Linked DNA regions of Homo sapiens: all the other regions are linked to region 3. The links are contacts of gene promoters, found by promoter capture Hi-C in human tissues and cell types (Jung and others, 2019). All regions are on one chromosome and are shown on one strand. Each heading gives the region's core, a stretch centred on a gene start or on the middle of the fragment in contact. The rest is flanking DNA. Distances are from core to core; before and after follow the strand shown. Region 1 overlaps RBFOX3 (RNA binding fox-1 homolog 3). Region 2 overlaps RBFOX3 (RNA binding fox-1 homolog 3). Region 3 holds the start of ENGASE (endo-beta-N-acetylglucosaminidase).

What was found. The method cuts DNA at HindIII sites, captures the fragments that hold promoters and counts their contacts. A contact is called where the count stands out against the background at its distance.
Region 1: a contact is called between a fragment that was not itself captured here and the fragment with the promoter of ENGASE in region 3, in 3 of the 25 tissues and cell types used here (liver, lymphoblastoid cells and mesendoderm cells).
Region 2: a contact is called between a fragment that was not itself captured here and the fragment with the promoter of ENGASE in region 3, in 2 of the 25 tissues and cell types used here (dorsolateral prefrontal cortex and thymus).

The regions. Positions count from the first base shown.
Region 1 is chr17:79,234,503-79,237,202 of GRCh38, reverse strand. It overlaps RBFOX3 (RNA binding fox-1 homolog 3), which reads left to right. Exons shown (of 15, transcript NM_001350451.2): 4 at 1,398-1,437. Among named protein-coding and RNA genes, the nearest start is that of ENGASE, 160 kb to the right of the region's middle. The HindIII fragment of the contact is 7,036 bases long and covers 1-2,700 here.
Region 2 is chr17:79,284,266-79,286,965 of GRCh38, reverse strand. The region is part of intron 3 of RBFOX3 (RNA binding fox-1 homolog 3); the gene reads left to right. Among named protein-coding and RNA genes, the nearest start is that of ENGASE, 210 kb to the right of the region's middle. The HindIII fragment of the contact is 4,236 bases long and covers 1-2,700 here.
Region 3 is chr17:79,073,512-79,076,211 of GRCh38, reverse strand. It overlaps ENGASE (endo-beta-N-acetylglucosaminidase), which reads right to left and starts at 1,388. Exons shown (of 14, transcript NM_001042573.3): 1 at 1,122-1,388. The coding sequence starts at 1,267. RefSeq lists a silencer at 987-1,526. The HindIII fragment of the contact is 14,853 bases long and covers 1-2,700 here.

The DNA.
Region 1 (2,700 bases), core at 67-2,566, 160 kb before region 3:
CTTTTCACTTGCTTTTATTTTTTGCACTAAGTTTTAAAAAATACGCACACATACACATATGCACAGGAGGCTGGGGGCAGGGAGTGGCATCTTAACAGGTATGGATATTCTTTTTGGAGCAACGAAAAGGTTCAGGCATCAGAGAGCAGCAGTGATTGACAGCAGTGTGAATGCACTCAATACCACTGAATTGTACATTTGAAAATGGTTAAAATTGTAAATTGTATATTATGTATATTTTACCACAATTAAAAAATGTGCAAGTCATGTACACAGAAAATTATGAAACATTACTAAAATAAAGGAAGGAAATCTAAGTTTGTTTAAAGCACACTATACACACACCCCTTTGTTTCTGAACTCCTCAATGACCTACTAAGAAAAGGAAGGTCTCCAGGCACTCGTGTGGAGTCCCAGGCCCCAGTGAGCTAGCTTTGTGACTTAGGCAGGAGTGGATACCCTGGCCCCGGGCCCTGGATTATAAAGTGAGTGAGTGGTGGTCCTTGCCAGTCTGTCCGTATCACTGAGCTGTTCCTGCTGCTGGTAGGTGCACCTGATTCACAATAACATACAACGATTGCCTCTATAATTATGTGTTTGGTGGGATTTAGAATTTGTTAAATAACTTTTCTTTAATAACATAAAATGAATGTGCAGGGCAAGGTGGGTGGATTGCCCGAGCTCAGGAGGTTGAGACCACCCTGGGCAACATGGCGAGACCCCCGTCTCTACTAAAAATACAAAAAATTAGCTGGGCGGGGTGGCACACACCTGTACTCCCAGCTACTAGGGCGGCTGAGGCACAAGAATCGCTCGAACCCAGGAGGCGGAGGTTGCAGTGAGCCAAGATCGCACCATTGCATTCCAGACAGAGCGAGACTCCATCTCCAAAAACAAATAAATAAATAAAATGAATGTGCATGCCATGACCACACTCAAAGTGACCCCCGCCCTACACCTGGAGGAGGAAGCAAATCCCCACGGCATGGCAGAGGAAACCCAGTGTGAAACTAAACGTCACCATCAACAAGCCACAAGGCCTGCGTTTGTGGACAACCTCAAACCAGGCTGGGGAGTGCTTGGAGTTTGAGGTGGGGGAAAAAAAGGAACATCCAGAGTCGCAGAGAAAATGAGTCTGAAACCTCTGGGTGGCCGGTCCACCGTGCCCTGTTTTGCTTTATCTCTGCCTGTTATCTAACCGCCGCCTCCCAGCCATGCTTGAGATGCAGACGGCAGCCAGAGGTTAACCCAGGCAGGTTTCCTTGGACTCCCAGGGAGATGATGCTTCCACCTCCAGACTTCCCTAGTCGATGAGCAAATAGCATCGCCAGCAACCAGATGCATGATGACAACATTGATTGTGATTCTCTCTCCTTTCTCTCTTTTTCTTTTCTTAGAGAGCCCAGAGTGCCTCGGGGAAAATTGGCTGAATAAAAGGTATAAAGACTTTCTCTATTTTTCCTGAATAGTTTTTGACAGATATGAGCATGTTGAACATCTTGGGAGCTGCTGATAATGAAAGCCAGGAGTTTCTGGGGTTTCCCAGCCACTGGAGGGAGGAAGAGTTTGGGGGCTGTGGAGGGAAGGCTTGGCGCCGTTTAGCACCTCTGTGTCGTGTTCTCTCTTGTCCCCCATGGATGAGCCCAAAATGTGCTGGGAAAGGCAGGACTGGGAGCCGGAGGGGCTGAAAGGGAAATGGATAAATGGGGTAAGGATGGAGGACGATTGTTTTTAGGCAATTCTGGCTGGCCTGAGAAGCAATGTCACTGCCTTCCTGATCCTTTCCCTCCCCCAACCCCAAGGTCCCCCACCCCAGGTGCTCCGCGCATGGCCACCCATTCCTCAGGCAGCCCCAGCTTGCTGGTCCAGGGTGGTCCAACTCATCTCCATGGCCTGGTCTCCTCGGGGAAGGGGCTTCGGATACCAGCTCAGTTCCCAGTGTTGACCCTCGCTGGGGGACTGGCTACTACTGCCTGAGCCCATTGGTCCATTGCTCTGTACCTCCAACCCCCATTACCCACCTGTGGCTGACCCCCTCCACAGATTCACTTGCAGAGTTTACTTTGGGGAGATTATTATACAAGTATGATGCTTCTGGACCTTCAATGGGGTTGTGTCCTGATAAACCCATCATAAGGTGAAAATATTGTAAGTCAAAAATAAATTTAATGGACCGGGCTTGGTGGCTCATGCTTGTAATCTCAACATTTTGGGAGGCCAAGGTGGGCAGATCACCTGAGGTCAGGAGTTCAAGACCAGCCTGGCCAACATGGCGAAACCCTATCTCTACTAAAAAATACAAAAATTAGCCGGGCATGGTGGCGGGTGCCTGTAGTCCCAGCTACTGGTAGGCCGAGGCAGGAGAATCACTTGAACCCGGGAGGCGGAGGTTGCATGAGCTGAGATCACACCACTGCACTCCAGCCTGGTCAACAGAGCAAGACTCCATCTCAAAAAAAAAAAAAAAAAAAAAAAAAAAAAGCACTTAATGCCCCCAATAAACCCAACAAACATAAAGTTGAAAAATTCAAAGTCAATCGTAAGTCAAACCTTCGTAAGTTGGAGATCATCTGTAATGTATATTTAGTGTGAACAAAATTAGAAAATGCAGCCATCGGCCCTCAGGTGGCCTCTCTTCGCTAGGTCCTGGGTTTTGGGTGGTGTGTGCACAAGGCCAGCGCTGCGTTTTTCAAAAATCAG
Region 2 (2,700 bases), core at 88-2,587, 210 kb before region 3:
CACAGGACCTCACTTGACACGCACATAGGGTGGATTAGGGAACCCTGACCCTACAGCGTTCTCAGCCCACAGTGTGGGACCAGGCTTCTGACAGTGTCTGAGGAGGGCACCAGGGCGTCCTCAGCAGGCACCTCCTTGCTGGGCACCTCCGTCTTCCCTCAGTGAGCAGGTCTATGGGTGGGACCTCCCTCTCCAGCTTCTATGTTAACGCACAGCCTGGCTCCATCCTCTTTAGGGCCCTACCCTTTCCCATTCTTAACACCAAGGGAGAAGAACCAGAAAGTCACGGAATCAGCCCAGTAGGGGGTTAACAAAAGGCTTGTGAAATGCAGCTCTCTCGGGGTGGCTGGCGAGGCTGGGAGCCGCAGCGTATTAAGCTCTGTCACATATCAGGAGGAAGCCAGCCCAGGGATGGGCAAACCCTCCCTGCACAGTTAATAAGCATCAGGGGCCGGGCGTGAAGCACCCCCATCTCAGCGTTTTCTGTTCAACAGGCTTTGCTGGTCTTTGGGAGCAGGCTGCAGGGGGAGAGAAGTGCTGGGGTGATTTGGTGATGGAGGAGGGGATGGGGACAGGAGAGTCATCTCTATACTTCTGGGGCAGAACTGCAGATGGCAGCCGGGGGCGTGGAGAAAGTGGCCTCACTCCACTGAGTCCAAAACCTGCAGTGAGAAGCCAGGAATTACCAGGCTCTCTAAGGGGCAGAAAGTCCTAGAAAGTTCCAGGTGGCCACTATGACATGGGAGCCAAGCAATCTCTGCAATGCCAATCAAGGCAGCCACATGACGTCAGAGGGTCCTCACAAGGGCTCGGAGAGGCAGGCCAGGGACATTTATTTGCAATAGACTCTGCACCAGTACTCAGCTTCTAGAAGGTCACAGTGCCAGCTGATCTGAGTGGAATGGTCTCAAGCCAGCAGCCATTCTGCCCATTGACTTTCTGTGTAGGACAGATGTACCCACTTGAACAAAACCCAATGCACAGGCCGGGTGCAGTGGCTCACGCCTGTAATCCCAGCACTTTGGGAGGCCGAGGTAGGTGGATCATCTGAGGTCAGGAGTTCAAGACCAGCCTGCTCAACATGGCAAAACCCCATCTCTATTAAAAATACAAAATTACCTGGGCATGATGGTGGGCGCCTGTAATCCCAGACACTTGGGAGGCTGAGGCAGGAGAATCACTTGAACTCAGGAGGCGGAGGTTGCAATGAGCTGAGATCGCACCATTGCACTCCAGCCAGGGTGACAGAGCGAGACTCCATCTCAAAAAAACAAAACAAAACAAAAACCAATGCATGAAAATGCAGCCTTATCAAAGCAGATAAAGGAGCAGGTGGTTTCTGGCACTGTCAGTGGATCTTCGGGAAACCACAGGGACTCACAGCAGGATTCCTGTAGGATGGAGCTTCTCTAGTGCATTTCAATATTGGTTTACAGATCTTTACCTACTTGATGGAAAGGTTTCAGGGCATTGTATGCTACAGTATGTGGAGCCTGTGTTAATTGAAGATGGTCAGAAATGAAGGTACAACATCTCTGGGTGTATCACGTAAATGAGCAGGAATATATGGTTATGAACTAGTACCATTTGCATCCACATGGAACTTTTCATCAACAGGTCTGTTTCATTAGCTGACCATGGCATGAAATCAGGAAAGAGCAAATGGGAATTCTTGTGGGCATATTAACTGCAGCTTGTCTATCCACCTGGCTGGGGCAGAAAGGGGGGACAGCGCCACTGACAGCTTCTCAGTGCAGGAGCGAGGAGAGGGTTACAGCCCAGAGGAGGGTTGGCTGTTCTTTGCGATGTGCCTGCGTCGTAGAAGGAGATTTTCAAGCATCTTCTTTCTCATCCTCCAACACATCCGCAAGGCAGGTAGCACCACTCCCATTTTGTGGATGGAAAACTGAGGCACAGGGAGTGGAATCATTTGCCAGGTGTCACACAGGCTGCAAATATCCACACAAGCTTTTGAATCCATGACCATTTACAAAGCGAGGTCTACTTCTGTGTCTGCCCTTCTTCTCTCCGAACACCAGGGCCAGAGGATGAAGGGCCCCAAGCTTGCCATCTCCAGCCCCTTCATGACCCCAAAGTCCATCAGGGCAGTCATAAAAGAGAAGGCTGGCTGGGCACAGTGGCTCACCCCTGTAATCCCAGCACTTTGGGAGGCCGAGGTGGGTGGATCACCTGAGGTCAGGAGTTCGACACCAGCCTGGACAACATAGTGAAATCTCGTCTCTACTAAAACTACAAAAATTACCCGGACGTGGTGATGAGCACCTGTAATCCCAGCTACTCAGGAGGCTGAGGCCGGAGAATCCCTTGAACCCCAGAGGCAGAGGTTGCAGTAAGTCGAGATCAAGCCACTACACTCTAGCCTGCTGGGTGACAGAGCAAAACTCCATGTCAAAAAAAAAAAGCGAGTCTCTTCCCCCAAGCCTGCTTCCAGCCATCTCCTTGTGACTGCTCTGAGCCTTCAGCTCCCATGAGGGCCTGTCTCAATCACCACGCACTCTCCTCCCTATTTTTTATGACTTTCTTGTTGCTGTTATTTTCTGAACAAACCAAAACATTTGGGTTGTGGATTTGGAATAACAAAACATTGAAGAAAGTTATTAAATATTGTAACCTAGGTTTTACTCTTCCCAAAATATTTTCTGAACCCCAAGTGGTTCAGAGACTTCATAAATAATTCTC
Region 3 (2,700 bases), core at 139-2,638:
TGAGATTCCCTAAATCTACCAACGCCCAAGGCCACTTCTTTGTTCACTGAGTTGTCATCTGCCATCACTCCACTGCCATTCAGAGGCCTGTTGCAAAGAGTCCTCTGTAGCATCTGCCATCACCAAACACTGACCCAGGGCCTCCAGAATGACATTGGGAGACCCTGAGAACTGCAGGGGTCGGGGACGGATTCAAGCAGAGATGCCGCAGTTGTTCCTCTCCACCTTCCTTTTCCAAAGCCCCCTTCCTCGTTGATGTCCTTATTATACTTCAGCCACCCCCTCCCAGACCTTCTCAGAACAATCCCACACCAGGTCACCTTTGTCACCTGTCATTCCTCCACTAGGAGGGAAAGAGCCATCTCCACATTCCTCCTGTCCAAAAATATCTTTCCCAGCAGCCAGCCTTCATCCCATCTTCATGAGGTCTGAAATGCTCAGCAGTCTCACTGCTTTGGGTTTAGAAACAAAGCTACGGCTGCTGTTTCCGGAAGCCATGTCTGTGCTCCTAACTTCTCCCCCTGCAACCTACTGAGGGGGAGTTTACCGGGTGGGCAAGTGCCCCCCAAAGGAAGGAAGCCCAGCCCAGAGGGGCATGTTCGTCCCTTTCTGTCTCTGTGCTTTGGCCCTTTCTGTTCCCCGCCAGTTGGATACCCTACTCCCTATTCTCCACCTACTGAAGGCTTCCTCCTCCCCAAAGACTCAGTTCTAGTGTCACCCCTACAGAAGGCCACCCCTTCCACCAGCCGGCATCCACTGAGCCAGGCATGAGCACCGCCGCCGGGATCTTCCGCATAGACCAGCGACGTGGGAAGCAGGGGTCTGGCCGGGGCGTCGGGATTCCCGCTGGGCCCCGCGGCCACTCGGGTTTGCACCCGTATTTCTGAGATAGGCAGGGGTCACGCACGGGGGCCGGAGGCCGCTGCCCGGCAGTGGCGCGAGGACGGCGGGGCGGACCGGGGCGGAGGGGCGCTGCCACCCTCTGTCCCTTACTGTGCACGGAGCGGACACAGGCGCCGGCCCCCCGCCCCTCGGCGCGCCCGTGCCGGGAAACCTCGGGCCCCGGGGCCACGGACTCTCAGCCCCGCGGATCGGGGTTCACGCGGGCCCCGCAGCCCCACCTCCTTCCCGGCCGCCGCCGCCGCGGCCGCGGCTCCTGATCCTCCTGCTCCTCCTGCGTCCCCGCCTCCGGGGCCGCCAGCCCCTGCAGCTGCCGCCGCCGCCGCCGTGTAGCCGACCGGGTGACCGTCACCGCCGCGGCCTCCATGACACTGTCCGCGCACGCCGAGAGGCAATCGCAGGCCCGGGCCCGCCCCCGCGCCGCGCTCGGCCAATGGGAAGTGCGCAGCGCTGACGCCGCGCTGGGACGGGACTCCGAGCTGACTCCCGGCCAGCGGCCGCGCGGCGGGGACTTTGTTGAGGCGACAGGCCGGGGGCGGGGCCGAGGACGGGGCGGGGCTGTGAGGGGCGGGGCCTGGGCGAGTTCCGAGCCCAGGGTTCGTCGTCGTTCTTGTTGTTGCCCATCATTGGCTATGAGTCCAGGGTGCTAGAAGGCTCTAGAAGGCTTCGGAACGCCCCAATCTTAGAGTTCTCTCTTTAGCCTCACCAGCTTCCTTTGTCAAGCAAACCGAGGTTTATCCCAGAGAGATTAAGCAATCTCCCAGAGGGCACAAAGTCAGCAAATGGTGGCAATGAGATTTTAACTCATGCAGCTAACCCCTATTAAAAGATAATTTTCAGACCGGGCGCGGTGACTCACGTCTGCGATTCCAGCACTTTGGGAGGCCGAGGCGGGCGGATCACCTGAAGTCAGGAGTTCGAGACTACCCTGGCCAACATGGTGAAACCCCGTCTCTACTTAAAATACAAAAATTAGCCGGGCGTGGTGGTGCATGCCTGTAATCCCAGCTACCTGAGAGGCTGAGACTGGAGAATCGCTGGAACCCGGGAGGCAGAGGCTGCAATGAGCCGAGACGGTGCCATTGCACTCCAGCCTGGGCGACAGAGGGAGACTCCGTCTCAAAAAAAAAAAAAAAAAGATGAAAGGTTAGTAGGTTAGTATCGGGCCATGTGGAAGCTGGTGTCCTATGTAGGATGCATAGTTTTCCAGTGAAACACGGATTTCTTTCTACAGCCCCACGCCTGTGCCCAACAGTAGTAGTTGCTCTACCCCTAAGCGTGCAGGGCCTGGAGTGGCACCTCTGCAAGAGTGGCACTGCCCAGCGTCTTAGGCACAAAAGGAGTTCACAGGAAACATGATAGAACAGAGCCCTGAGAAGCCAGAACTCAAGGCTGGGCCCCACAGGGCAAACCAAGGCTCTCCTCCCTCCAGGCCCCAACGCCCCTCCACAGCTAGGAGCTTCCAGTGCTGGGCTGCAGCTGCCGCCCAAGCCAAGTTGACTGGGCCTTTATTATTGTTGCAGACTTTGAACTTTATGAGGCTCCAAGCTTCCATAAACGCCAATGGTGGGAACTATGACTAAGGTTGTTGAATATGGGCCATGGTGCAGGCCAGCCAGTTAGGCAGGAAGGACGGGCCACTCAGAAGCAGGACACGCTGACCCATGGGGAGGACAGAGAAGGCAGAGGGCTCCTCTTTGGGGCTTCAGTCCTGGGAAGCTTACAGTGAGCGAGGGCAGTGGATCCCCAAGTTCCCTCCTGCTGTGTTCAGGGGTGCACCGGACGTGGACAGTCTTGATC